2 separate regions of the Homo sapiens genome follow, and region 1 is linked to region 2. The links are contacts of gene promoters, found by promoter capture Hi-C in human tissues and cell types (Jung and others, 2019). All regions are on one chromosome and are shown on one strand. Each heading gives the region's core, a stretch centred on a gene start or on the middle of the fragment in contact. The rest is flanking DNA. Distances are from core to core; before and after follow the strand shown. Region 1 overlaps LOC124904635 (a long non-coding RNA gene). Region 2 holds the start of OR7D4 (olfactory receptor family 7 subfamily D member 4).

The links. The method cuts DNA at HindIII sites, captures the fragments that hold promoters and counts their contacts. A contact is called where the count stands out against the background at its distance.
Region 1: a fragment that was not itself captured here is called in contact with the fragment with the promoter of OR7D4 in region 2 in 1 of the 25 tissues and cell types used here (spleen).

Annotation. Positions count from the first base shown.
Region 1 is chr19:9,800,814-9,807,377 of GRCh38, reverse strand. LOC124904635 (a long non-coding RNA gene) reads right to left here. Exons shown (of 3, transcript XR_007067134.1): 3 at 4,962-5,456. Among named protein-coding and RNA genes, the nearest start is that of FBXL12, 15 kb to the left of the region's middle. The HindIII fragment of the contact is 4,629 bases long and covers 1,385-6,013 here.
Region 2 is chr19:9,215,420-9,221,929 of GRCh38, reverse strand. It overlaps OR7D4 (olfactory receptor family 7 subfamily D member 4), which reads left to right and starts at 2,341. Exons shown (of 2, transcript NM_001005191.3): 1 at 2,341-2,730. It also overlaps a transcript of OR7E24 not described here and the pseudogene OR7D11P. The HindIII fragment of the contact is 21,358 bases long and covers 928-6,510 here.

The DNA of each region.
Region 1 (6,564 bases), core at 2,450-4,949, 580 kb before region 2:
GTTTTTTGGAGATGCTAGTCTCACTCTGTCACCTAAGCTGGAGTGCAATGGTGCGATCTCAGCTCACTGCAACCTCTGCCTCCAAGGTTTATGCTGCAGCCTGCCTCAGCCTCCTGAGTACCTGGGATTACAGGCACATGCCACCACACCCAGCCAATTTTTATATTTTTAGGAGATGGGGTTTCACCATGTTGGCCAGGCTGGTCTCAAACTCCTGGCCTTAAGTGATCCGCCTGCTTTAGCGTCCCAAAGTGCTGGGATTACAGGTGTGAGCCGCTGCAACTGGCCAGCAGGCATTAATTTTGAAGCAGGTAAGTGTTTACAGGCAGTGCTAGCAGGTGGGGGAAGAAGGCCCTGATCTGTAGCATTTGCAGATTACTATGGTGTAAACACTGTCTCACCACAGCTGGTTTCAAGCTACCAACAGTTTAACAACTGGCTCACAAAATAGTTGAAGATTCAGCATTTGGCTCTCCTGAGCTGTGGCATACCACTGGTTACAGGTGTCTTCTTCCTGGGCTTACCCTATGGAGAATTCATTCTGCCTTAGTGACCTCTAACATGGGCCTTGCCCCAAGGGGTGATGGGGTGATGGGACATCAGACAGAGCTTCTCCCCTTTTGGAACCTCCCCACCCCTAATCATTGCCTTCTCCCAGATAAGGGGCTGGGGGCTTCAGGACTGCCCTCCAATGAAGGCAAAGCATAATCACAATAGCTGACATTATTATTTTATTTTTATTTATTTATTTTGAGACATGGTCTTACTCCATCACCCAAGCTGGAGTGCAGTGGTGTGACTGTAGCTCACTGCAGCCTCGAACTCCTGGGTTCAAGCAATCTTCCCACCTCATCCTCCCCAGCAGCTGGGAATACAGGCATGCACCACCACACCTGGCTAATTTTTAAAAAGAATTATTATTATTATTATTTTGTAAAGACGTGGTCTCACTGTGTTGCCCAGGTTGGTCTCAAACTGCTTGGCTCAAGCGATCCTCCTGCCTCAGCCTCCCGAAGTGGTGAGATTACAGGCGTGAGCCACCACACCCAGCCTACTGAGTGCTTCTTATGTGGCAGGCACTGTGCTCAGTCCTTCATGCATGGACTCCTATAAGCAGCCCACTGAGGGAGGTAGAGATGAAGACACTGAGGCACAGAGAAGTTAAGTTGCCCAAAGCAACATAGCTGGTAAAGTAGAACCTGAGTAATTTTACTCCACAATCTTGCCCAGGATATAAAGCTGCCATGCTGCCATGCAATAGTATCTGAAGGGAGGCCCAGTAACTGGGCCCTATTAGGGGCTGTGAAGGCAATCATGACTCCATCTTGGATGCCAACTGCCATCTTGACTTCTGCTTAACCCAAGTCCTGAGAACAACTCCAACATTTCTAGATTTTTTTTTTTTTTTGAGACGGAGTTTTTGTTTTTGTAGCCCAGGTTGGAGTGCAATGGTGCAATCTTAGCTCACTGCAACCTCTGCCCCCAAGGTTCAAGAGATTCCTGCCACAGCCTTCTGAGTAGCTGGGATTACAGGTGCCCACCACCATACCCAGCTAATTTTTTGTATTTAATAGAAATGGGGTATCACCATGTTGGTCAGGCTGGTCTCAAACTCCTGACCTCAGGTGATCCACCCACCTTGGCCTCCCAAAGTGCTGGGATTACAGGCATGAGCCACTGTGCCCCACCTACTTTTTTTTTTTTTTTTTTGAGACAGAGTCTTATTCTGTCCCTCAGGCTGGAGTGCACTGGCCCAATCTCGACTCACTGTAACCTCCCTCACCTGGGTTGAAGCAATCCTCCCACCTCAGCCTCCCAAGTAATTGAGACTACAGGTGCACACTACCATGCCTGGTGGTTTTTTGTTTTTTTTTGTTTTTTGTTTTAAGACATAGGGTTTCGTCATGTTGCCCAGGCTGGTCTTGAACTCTTGGGCTCAAGCCATCCGCCCACCTTGGCCTCCCAAAGTGCCGGGATTACAGGCATGAGCCACTGCACCCAGCCAGGATTTCTACTTTATTTACTGTTCTTGTGTAAGAACATATACTCGCCATAGATCCTGCCCTTGGACCAAAGCAGCCTTGATGTTATTGTATAAATTACAGGCTATGACACATATCACATTCTTACCTGTCTGGAGGGTTAACTTGGCCTACACATTCTTTAGGAAAAAAAGAAAAAATTTTTTTTCGAGACAGGGTCTTGCTTTGTTGCCCAGGCCAGAGCGCATCATGGCTCATCTCAGCCTTGACCTCCAGGGCTGTAGTGTTCCTTACCCTCTCAGCCACACAAGTACCTGGGACTATAGGCACATGCCACCATGCCCAGCTAATTTTTCTTTTTTTGTAGAGATGGGGTCTCACCATATTGCCCAGGCTGGTCTCAAAGTTTTGGGCTCAAGCGATCTGCCTGCCACAGCCTCCCAAAGTGCTGGGATTACAGGTGTGAACTACTCACCATGCCCAGCCCCTACAGCTTCACTGAGGTATAATTAACATGTAATAAATTGCACATATGGCCGAGCGCGGTGGCTCACGCCTGTAATCCCAACACTGGGAGGCAGAGGCAGGCGGATCACCTGAGGTCGGGAGTTCGAGACCAGCCTGACCAACATGGAGAAACCCCGTCTCTACTAAAAATACAAAATTAGCCGGACGTGGTGGCACATGTCTGTAATCCCAGCTACTCGGGAGGCTGAGGCAGGAGAATCGCCTGCACCTGGGAGGCGGAGGTTGCGGTGAGCCGAGTTCACACCATTGCACTCCAGCCTGGGCAACAAGAGCGAAACTCCATCTCAAAAAAAAAAAAAAAAAAAAAGTTTAAATTTACCTATAGCGTGGAAGCTTCCTGCTTTGAGTTGTCCTGCTTTTCTGGACCAAGCCAATGTATTTATTAAATGTGTTTGATTGATGTCTCATGTCTCCCTAAAATATATAAAACCAAGCTGCACCCCAACCACTTTTGTCACATGTTCTCAGGACATCCTGAGGGCTGTGTCGTGGGCCATGGTCACTCATATTTGGCTCAGAATAAATCTCTTCAAATATTTTACAGAGTTTGACTCTTTGTCAACCATTGCCTTTGCAAAAATAATAATCAGGACAGTCGAGGTGGCTCACGCCTGTAATTCCAACATTTTGTGAGGCTGAATGAACTCCAGAATGGGCAGGTCATTTGAGCCTGGGGAGGTCGAGGCTGCAGTGAGCTGTGATTGCACCTCTGCACTCTAGCCTGGGTAACAGAGTGAGACCCTGTCTCAAAAAAATATATATCAGAAAATTATGACAGTGAAAGAGATCTGAGCCAATCCACCCCCCATCTTCCCTTTCCCTTAATATTTCCTGGGCTATTGGGCTGAGGTAACTTTAAGAAACATTTAGGCTATAGTTTAGGTGATAATAAGCTTTGCCTAAAACTCAATCGCTTTGGTAAAACTAATGGGGAGCCATCAGCAGGAGAGGAGCCTGATTCCTGCAAAGGCGCAGAAATGTATGTCAGCCACTATTCCAGAGGTTATGAGATATGCAACTTCCCCAATTACTCCTGCAAATAACACCACTATTGCAGAACCCCAGATTGGCCTTTGGAGATACCCTTTCAGGTTTTATTGCATGTCTGACACCTAACACTCCTCATGGACCCGTCAACCCTGCTCCTATGGCCCCACCCAAAATCGATTCAGCCTGTAGGAGGAAGGCTTCGACCCCCCTATGATTGCATCTGCCCCAACCAATCAGCAGCAAGCACCTGTTACTCTGCCATCCCCACCCGTTCCCCCAAACTGTCTTTGGAAAACCCCTAACCTAGGAGCTTTGAGATGATTTGAGTAGGAACTTCGACTCCCACGTGGCATGGCCAGCCTCATGTCCACTAAACTCTTCCTTTACTACAATGCCATTGTCTTTCTTTATGCAGTGGGCAGGAAGAACCCTCCGGCAATTACAGCTTGAGCCCAGGAATTCGATGCCAGCCTAAGCAATGTCGACGAAAAGCGTCAAACTCTGTAAAATATTTTAAGAGATTCATTCTGAGCCAAATATGAGTGACCATGGCCGGTGATACAGCCCTCAGGAGGCCAGGAGAACATGTGCCCAAGGTGACTGGGGTGCAGTTGGTTTTGTACATTTTAGGGAGACATGAGACTTCAATCAAATACATTTAAGAAATATATTGGCCGGGCGCGGTGGCTCACGCCTGTAATCCCAGCCCTTTGGTAGGCCGAGGTGGGCGGATCACATGAGGTCAGAGTTCGAGACCAGCCTAACCAAGATGGTGAAACCCCGTCTCTACTAAAAATACAAAATTAGCCGGGTGTGGTGGCACGCGCCAGTTATCCCAGCTACTCAGGAGGCTGAGGCAGGAGAATCGCTTGAACCAGGGAGGCGGAGGTTGCAGTGAGCGGAGATGGCACCACTGCACTCCAGCCTGGGTGACAGAGCGAGACACCGTCTCAAAAAAAAAAAAAAAAAAAAAGGAAAAGAAATACATTCATTTGTTCCAGAATGGCAGGACAGCTCAAACCGGGAGCTGGGGTGGGGTGGGAGTGGGGATTCCAGCTTATAGGGAGATTAAAACTTTTTTTCTTTTTTTGAGAGGAGGCTTGAGGTTGTGGAGACCCAAGTTCTTTTTTTTTTTTTTCTTTTTTCTTTTTTGAGATGGAGTCTCGCTCTTGTTGCCCAGCCTGGAGTGCAATGGCACCATCTCGGCTCACTGCAACCTCCACCTCCCGGGTTCAAGCGATTCTCCTGGCTCAGCCACCAGAATAGCTGGGATTACAGGCGCCCGCCACCATGCCCGGCTAATTTTTTTTTTTTTTTTTTTCGGAGACGCAGTCTCGCTCTGTCGCCCAGGCTGGAGTGCAGTGGCACGACCTCAGCTCACTGTAACCTGCGCCTACCGGGTTCCAGCAATTCTCCTGCCGCAGCCTCCTGAGTAGCTAGGATTACAGGTGTGTGCCACCACGACCGGCTAATTTTTGTATTTCTAGTAGAGACGGGGTTTCGTCATGTTGGCCAGGCGGGAGACCCAAGTTCTTATTTCCAGAGGAAGCCTCCAGGTACTAGACTTCAGAGAGAATAGGTTGTAAAATGTTTATCCGACAGACCTGGGGGCGTGGCTTCCAATGAAGACCAGCCCCAGAAGGCCGGGCTGGGAGACTGCGAAGTCGGAGGGGTTGAGGGGACTTCAGGCAGAGTGGGTGGAGCAAAGGAGAGGGCTCAGGCTTGGGGGCGGGACTTGGGTGGGTCCTCCATTCTGGTTGGCCAAGCCTCTATGTCCCAAATAAAAGTCTCTACCTTCCCGAGAACTTATTACAATAGAACACCAGATTTCCAGAGGTATCTGCCAGTCCACAGAGTGAATCACGTTTCCATTCATCCCGTTTCTTCTATAGGCCCTTGAAGAGAGTTTTAACATTTTCTTCTTAAATCGGTTGTATCTTTCGGTGAGGTTAACTCCTAGAGATTACATATAAATACATTTAGGTTTTTTGCTCTTTTTTCCAACCGATGGTTATTGAGGAGTTCTGAGAGATGAGAAATGTGCTGATTTAAATCACAAATGTAGGCCAGACGCAGTCGCTCACACCTGTAATCCTGGCACTTTGGGAGGTTGAGGCAGGGTCCTTTGAGCCCAGGAGTTCTAGACCAGCCTGGGCAACATGGGGAGACCCTGTCTCTATGAAACATTAAAATTAAAATTAAAAAAAGAAAAATAAATAGCCCGGGCGCGATGGCTCAAGCCTGTAATCCCAGCACTTTGGGAGGCCGAGGCGGGTGGATCACCTGAGGTCAGGAGCTCGAGACCAGCCTGAACAATATTGTGAAACCCGCTTATACTAAAAATACAAAAAATTAGTTGGGCGTGGTGGCGGGCGCCTGTAATCCCAACTACTTGGGAGGCTGAGGCACCAGAATAGCTTGAATCCGGGAGGCGGAGGTTGCAGTGAGCCGAGATGGTGCCATTGCACTCCAGCCTGGGCGACAAGAGCAAAACTCTGTCTCAAACGAAACAAAACAAACCAAAAACCCAATAAAATACAAAAATTAGCTGCGCGTGGTGGTGCACACCTGTAATCCCAGCTACTCGGGAGGCTGAGGCAGGAGAATCGCTTCAACCTGGGAGGCGGAGGTTGCAGTGAGCCGAGATGGCGCCACTGCACTCCAGCCTGGGTGACAGACTGAGACTCCTTCTCTATATAAAAAAAAAAAGAAATAGAAAAAAGAAAAATGAATAGGCCGGGCACGGTGGCTCACGCCTGTAATCCCAGCACTTTGGGAGGCCGAGGCGGACGGATCACTTGATGTCAAGGGTTCGAGACCAGCCTGGCTAACACGGTGAAACCTCGTTTCTACTAAAAATACAAAAAGTTATCCGGGCATAGTGGTGCGTGCTTGTAATCCCAGCTAGTCGGGAGGCTGTGGCAGGAGAATTGCTTGAACTCGGAAGGCGGAGTTTGCAGTGAATCAAGATCACACCACTGCACTCCAGCCTGGGTAACAGAGGGAGACTCCGTCTCTTAAAAAAAAAAAAAGGAAAATAAATAAATAAAGTAGATCACAGATA
Region 2 (6,510 bases), core at 1,092-3,591:
ATAACAAAAGAGGAAAACCTCATGATAGTGGTCTGAGCAGTGATTTTTTTGGATATGACCTCTGAAGCACAGACAACAAAAGCAATAGACAAATGGAATTACATTAAACTAAAAATCTCCACACAGCAAAGGAAACAGTAGAGTGAAGAGACAAACTACAGAATGGAGGAAAATATTTGCAAACTAGACATGTGATATGGGGCTAATATCCAAAATACGTAAGAAGCTCAAACAACTCAGTAGGAAGAAAACGACCCAATTTTAAAATGGGCAAAAGACAGCCTGGCGCGGTGGCTCACGCCTGTAATCCCAGCACTTTGAGAGGCAGAGGAGAGCGGATCACGGGGTCAGGAGATCGAGACCACCCTGGCTAACACGGTGATAACCCCGTCTCTACTAAAAATACAAAAAAGTAGCCGGGCGTCGTGGCAGGCGCCTGTAATCCCAGCTACTCGGGAGGCTGAGGCAGGAGAATGGCGTAAACCCGGGAGGCGGAGCTTGCAGCGAGCGGAGATCGCGCCACTGCATTCCAGCCTGGGTGACAGAGCGAGACTCCGTCTCAAAAAAAAAAAAAAAAAAAAAAAAAAAAGGGCAAAAGACCTGAAAGACATTTGTCAAAAGAAGACACACAGATGGACAACATACATTTTTTTTTTCTTGAGACGAGTCTCGCTCTGTCACCCAGGCTGGAGTGCAGTGGCGCGATCTCGGCTCACTGCAAGCTCCCCCTCCCGGGTTGAAGTCATTCTCCTGCCTCAGCCTCCCAAGTAGCTGGGACTACAGGCGCCCGCCACCACGCCCGGCTAATTTTTTGTATTTTTAGTAGGGACGGGGTTTCACCTTTAGCCAGGATGGTCTCGATCGCCTGACCCTGTGATCCGCCCGTCTAGGCCTCCCAAAGTGCTGGGATTACAGGCGTGAGCCACTGCGCCCGGCCCAACATACATTTTTAAAAGGTTTAACTTCACTAATCATCAGGGAAATGCAAATGAAAACCACAATGAGATATCACCTCACTTCATCTCAAATGGCTATTACTAAAAAGACAAAAGATAGTAAGTGCTGGCCAGGATATGAAGAAATGGAAACCCTTCTACACTGTTGGTAGGAATGTAAATTAGTACAACCATTATGGAAAAGAGTATGGAGGTTCCTCAAAAACTTAAAAATAGAACTACCATATGATCCAGCAGTCCACTACTGGGTATATATCAATAAGAAACGAAGTCAGTGTGTGGAAGGGATATCGCACTCCCATGTTTATTGGAGCATTATTCACAGTAGCCAAGACACAGAATCAACCTAGTTGTCTGCAAATAAATGAATGGATAAAGAAAATGTAGTATATATACACAATGGAATATGATTCATCCATAAAACACAAGGAAATCCTGTCATTTGCAACATGGATGAACTCAGAGAACATTGTGTTAAGTGAAATAAGGGAGGCACAGAAAGACAAATATCACATGATCTCACTCATATGTGGAATCTAACGAAGGTGATCTCAGAGAAATAGAATCCAGATTTCAAAGAAGTAGAATGTTGGTTACCAGACCCAGAGTGGTTTGGGGTTGAGGAGTAGTGTTGGTGTTGTGGAGATGTTAGTAAAAGAATACAAAATTACAGCTATATAAGAGAAGTAAGTTCAAGAGATCTATTGTACAGCAGGATGACTTTAGTTAATGATGATATATATGATATTCTTTGAAAATGCTAAGAGAGTGGATATTAAGTGTTCTCACCAGGATAACGACTCTGTGAGATAATGCGTATGTTAATTAGATACATTGAATGTCCACAATGTATATATATTTCCAAATATCAAGTTGTACATGATACATACATATAATTCTATAATTTAAAAAAATATATAAAAATAATTTGAAAAAATATTTAAAAAGAAAAGACATTTTTGTTTCCATGAATTTTCAACACCGAGGGATCCATAAAATCTCCAAAGACTCTTCAAGGGAGTCACATCGCTTGGAGATGATTCCTGAGTTTAGTTCCTTGCAGAAATTAATCTTTCCTTAGGGCAAAACTTGTGACTTTCAAATTAAACCGAAGAAAGAATTTCTTCTTGGGGGAAATAAATCCATCATGCCCTACCACTGCCTATTTCATCACAAAATTAACTGAAAAATTTCCATTCTATCATCTTCTTACTACTCAAAGGGAGCCAAACTCTTTGGAGAGTGGGAAGAAAATAGAACAATTTATTTAATAAGGTGCTCTGAGAATTCAACTCTTGAGACACTGGAAACTTAAAATGTGCCCCTGTTTAAACAACCTCACCTGTAATTCTCTGCTCCCAGCCTTTGGAAAAAACCCAGTACGGCTTCCTAGGAACAGATCGTGTAGAAGAGAAAACTTCAGTGATAACCATCAGAGTTAGTGTGACCCAGTGAGGGCTGGTGGGGTAAGAAGGAAAAGAGGAGAGAGAATAAGTACTAGCCTTCACAGTAATGAGCCTGGAAAGTCCCATACTTATTGAGTCTATGAAGGTGAAGTCCCTGTACTTTGATGGTACTTTAGTTTTCACAGAAACCAGTGTCTCCCACCTTCTGTTCTCACTCCTTGGAATCCAGGGCCCGTCTTTAATAAGTTATTTTCCGAACAGTCTCTAACTCTCCTGCACTCTTTCCTATAAACTTTAGTCTCCTGTTGAATTTCGTACATCCAGTTACTTATTCATTAACTACTCACGGAAGATCTACTATGCTCAAGGTATTGTCTATGTGTTCCTAATGTGATTGGATTTTTCTATTATATTCTATATTTTTCCTGGCAGATTATTGGTTACCAGACCCAGAGTGGTCTGGGGATTGGGGGTAGGGTTGATGTGGTGGAGATGGTGACTTATTTACAGCACTTACTAGCTGTTATGTTTTTGCTATTTCAACTTAGTATCCATGATATCATATAGAAATAATACAATTATTTCTGACATTCAACATGCAGTCCAATTTTTTTTCTCATATTAAAAATCCCTTGGCTGAACGTAGTGGCTCACATCTATAATCCCAGCACTTTGGGAGGCCGAGGCGGGCAGATCACTTGAGGCCAGGACCCTGAGACCAGCCTGGCTAACATGGCAAAACCCTGTCTCTACTAAACAATAACAAAAAAAGAAAGCCTGACACCTTAGCTTACACCTGCAATCCCAGTTACTCGGGAGACTGAGATGGGATAATTGCTTGAACCCAGGAGGCAGAGGTTGCAGTAAGCTGAGACTGCACCCCGCACTCCAGCCCAGGTGACAAAGTGACACCATGTCCCCCCCAAAAAAAAATCCATTTGCATGTTCACCAAAATATCAAAAGATTGAAATTGTAGTAGACGGCCTTTGGTGTATCCAGGAATTTAAACCCCTTACTGTTTTAACATAGCATATCTTGTTGCCTGTGGTATTAAAACAACCATTGTTTATCGGGTTAAGCAATTGTCCTTGGTTTCTTCCTTTATTGAGAGGATCTGCCCTGGTTGATAATCTTTTTCAAATGCATTTTTTCTATTGTGATTTTGTTTATGATTTCTCTTTACTGACCTGTTTTTGTGATGAATTATGCAGACATTCTTACATTAAACCTGCTTCCATTGTTAGAGCTGGTATTACTACTTCATTTATCATTATTTTAAAAGAGATATGAATATGTTATTTACTGTATTATTAAATTTATGTCTATATTCAAACATGTCTTAAACTTGAAGATTTCTATTTTGTGTTATAGTTGATGCTTTGGTCCCAGTCTTTATAGAACATTTCAATTTGTACTTGCTCAGAATCAGTAATGTGCTGGGCACCACGTAAATCCTTGTTAAATGATGAGACAAAACAATCGCAACCACTGTCTAAAACTAAATATAAGTTGACCAATGTGAAAGGGACAAGGAGGAAGAATATAGGATGTTCTATTTCTAGTCATCAAATACATATCCCGCTTTCATTCCCTGCTCCCCATCTCACTGGCATCTCAAATCCCTTCCTTTACAAGCTCAATGACCCATGGGACAATCTCGAATTCTCTTCTGTCAGCCTAGAAGATTTACCCTTTCCTTTCCTTACTTCCCCTAATTAACAATGATCCGGCCAGGTGCAGTAGCTCATGTCTGTAATCCCAGCATTTTGGGAGGCCGAGGTGGGCAGATCACTTGAGGTCAGTAGTTCGAGACCAGCCTGGCTAACAAGGTGAAACCCTGTCTCTACTAAAAATAAAAAAATTAGCTGAGCGTAGTGGCACACACCTGTAATCCCAGCTACTCAGGAGGCTGAGACAGGAGAATCGCTTGAACCTGGGAGGCAGAGGTTGCAGTGAACAGAGATAGCACCACTATACTCCAGCCTGGGCAACAGATCGAGATTCCATCTCCAAACAAACAAACAAACAAACCAATGATCCATTCTTCCTCTCTCAGCCCAAATTTTCCTATCTCAGAGAAGCCTCTTCTATCCACTTTCCAGGACTAAAGTTGGTCTTCAGTGATTATTTTTCCATCTTTAATTAATCAACATTCTCTAGGCATAAATAGTAACAACCTTTTTTCCATCATGAAAAATGCAAATTTTTTTTCAAACCTCAAAGTTGCCCTTTAGTTTTTTAGGATGATTTGATTTATAGAAATTTTTAAATTTTTATATCAAACTTATCAGTCACATTTCTTGGCAATTCATTGCCCTGATATTAGTCCAACATTCCCACTCAACTGCATGTGTACACAAGCACACATTCTCTCAGGCCTTGTCTTTGATTCTAATGGCGGTGTCCCTTTCTTTTCTCATCTTGTGTATGTAGTCCACAGGCTTTTGTTACTTCTTGGAGGAATACACTGGGCAGACATTCTCTGAAGCAGGGAAGCATAGGGATCTTCATGAGTTGAGAGTCCTGTGTGGTGGTCACAAGACGTAACAGACCTGTTGTATTCACAGTGATCAGAATTCCATCCTTGATGGCTGCCCCATGTAAGGGGGATATTGATATTGATAAATGATAGCCATGAAAGACAGATTTATTGTAATGTTAAAAACAAAAGTTCAGGCTGGGCACAGTGGCTCATGCCTGTAATCTCAGCACATTGGGAGGCCAAGGTGGGTGGATCACTTGAGCCCAGGAGTTCAAAACCAACCTGGCCAACATGGTGAAACCCCATCTCTACTAAAAATAGAAAAATTAGCTGGGCATGGTGGTGCATGCCTGTGGTCCCAGCTACTTGGGAGGCTGAGGCACAAGAATCACTTGAACCCAGGAGGCAGAGGTTGCAGTGAGCCAACATTGCACCACTGCACTCCAGCCTGGTCAACAGAGTGAGACTCTGTCTCAAAAAAAAAAGCAAAAGAACAAAAGTTCATATGTGTGAAATATCCATTGTATGACACAGAAATCATAGTAGACAAATGACATGGATAATCTCATTTAATTTCACTCTTCAATATTCCCACATAGGGAGTATTTACTACTCCTACTATGGAGGTGAGGTAGCTGCAGCTAAGACAGTTCAAATAACTTTCTCTATGGTATACAGTAGTAAGTTGGTGGATTCACATAGTTTGGCTGTGTCCCTACACAGTGAACCAGAGGCAGGTCACAGAAGAAATGTGGAATTTCAGTGCCTATAGAGAAGGTCAACCTCTTCATCAGAAGAACATGAACCAGGGAGACCCAGAAAATGATAAATCAAGATGCCAGAACAAGGAGGCCACAGAGGCAGGAGTTCATGATGACTGTGGGGTGCAGGGGGTGGCAGATCTCATCTTGAATTCCCATGTGTAATGGGAGGGACCCAGTGGGAGGAAATTGAATCATGGAGACAGGTCTTTCCCATGCTGTTCTTGAGATAGTGAGTAAGTCTCATGAGATCTTATGGTTCTATAAGGGGGAGTTTCCTTGCACAAGCTTTCTCTCTTTGCCTGCCACCATCCATGTAAGATGTGACTTGCTCCTCCTTGCCTTCCACCGTGATTATAAGGCTTCCCCAGCCACGTGGAACTGTAAGTCCATTAAACATCTTTCTGTTGTAAATTGCCCAGTCTCAGGTATGTCTTTATCAGCAGAGTGAAAACAGACTAATGCATGGATCAGAATTTTATTCTAAAAAGTCTGATTTCAGAAAATATTTTCCAAATCACAGCTCTATGCTATACCTTGGAAGAGTTATATATCTAAGTAATTATCATAAAAGGAAAAGATTAATAAGATTAATAGTAATAGTAGCAGTAATGATAGCTATCATTTGTTGATATTCCTACCGTGCATATGGCATTTTTAAACCTCAATAAGAAAGTAATATCAATAATTTAATTTTAAGGAAGGAAGAAAGCCCTGAGAGTTAACTGTCACATCACTTCCAAGCACTGGGTCACAGAATAAAGGTTGTTTGGGTTGAAAATCCACAACTTAATAACTATTGTACATCTATTAGAATGAAGGAAGCATGGGGATTATCGAGGAAAAGACATGACATACCTTTAATTATTTTGGAAGATTCACACCAAAGAAGAAATTGATTTAA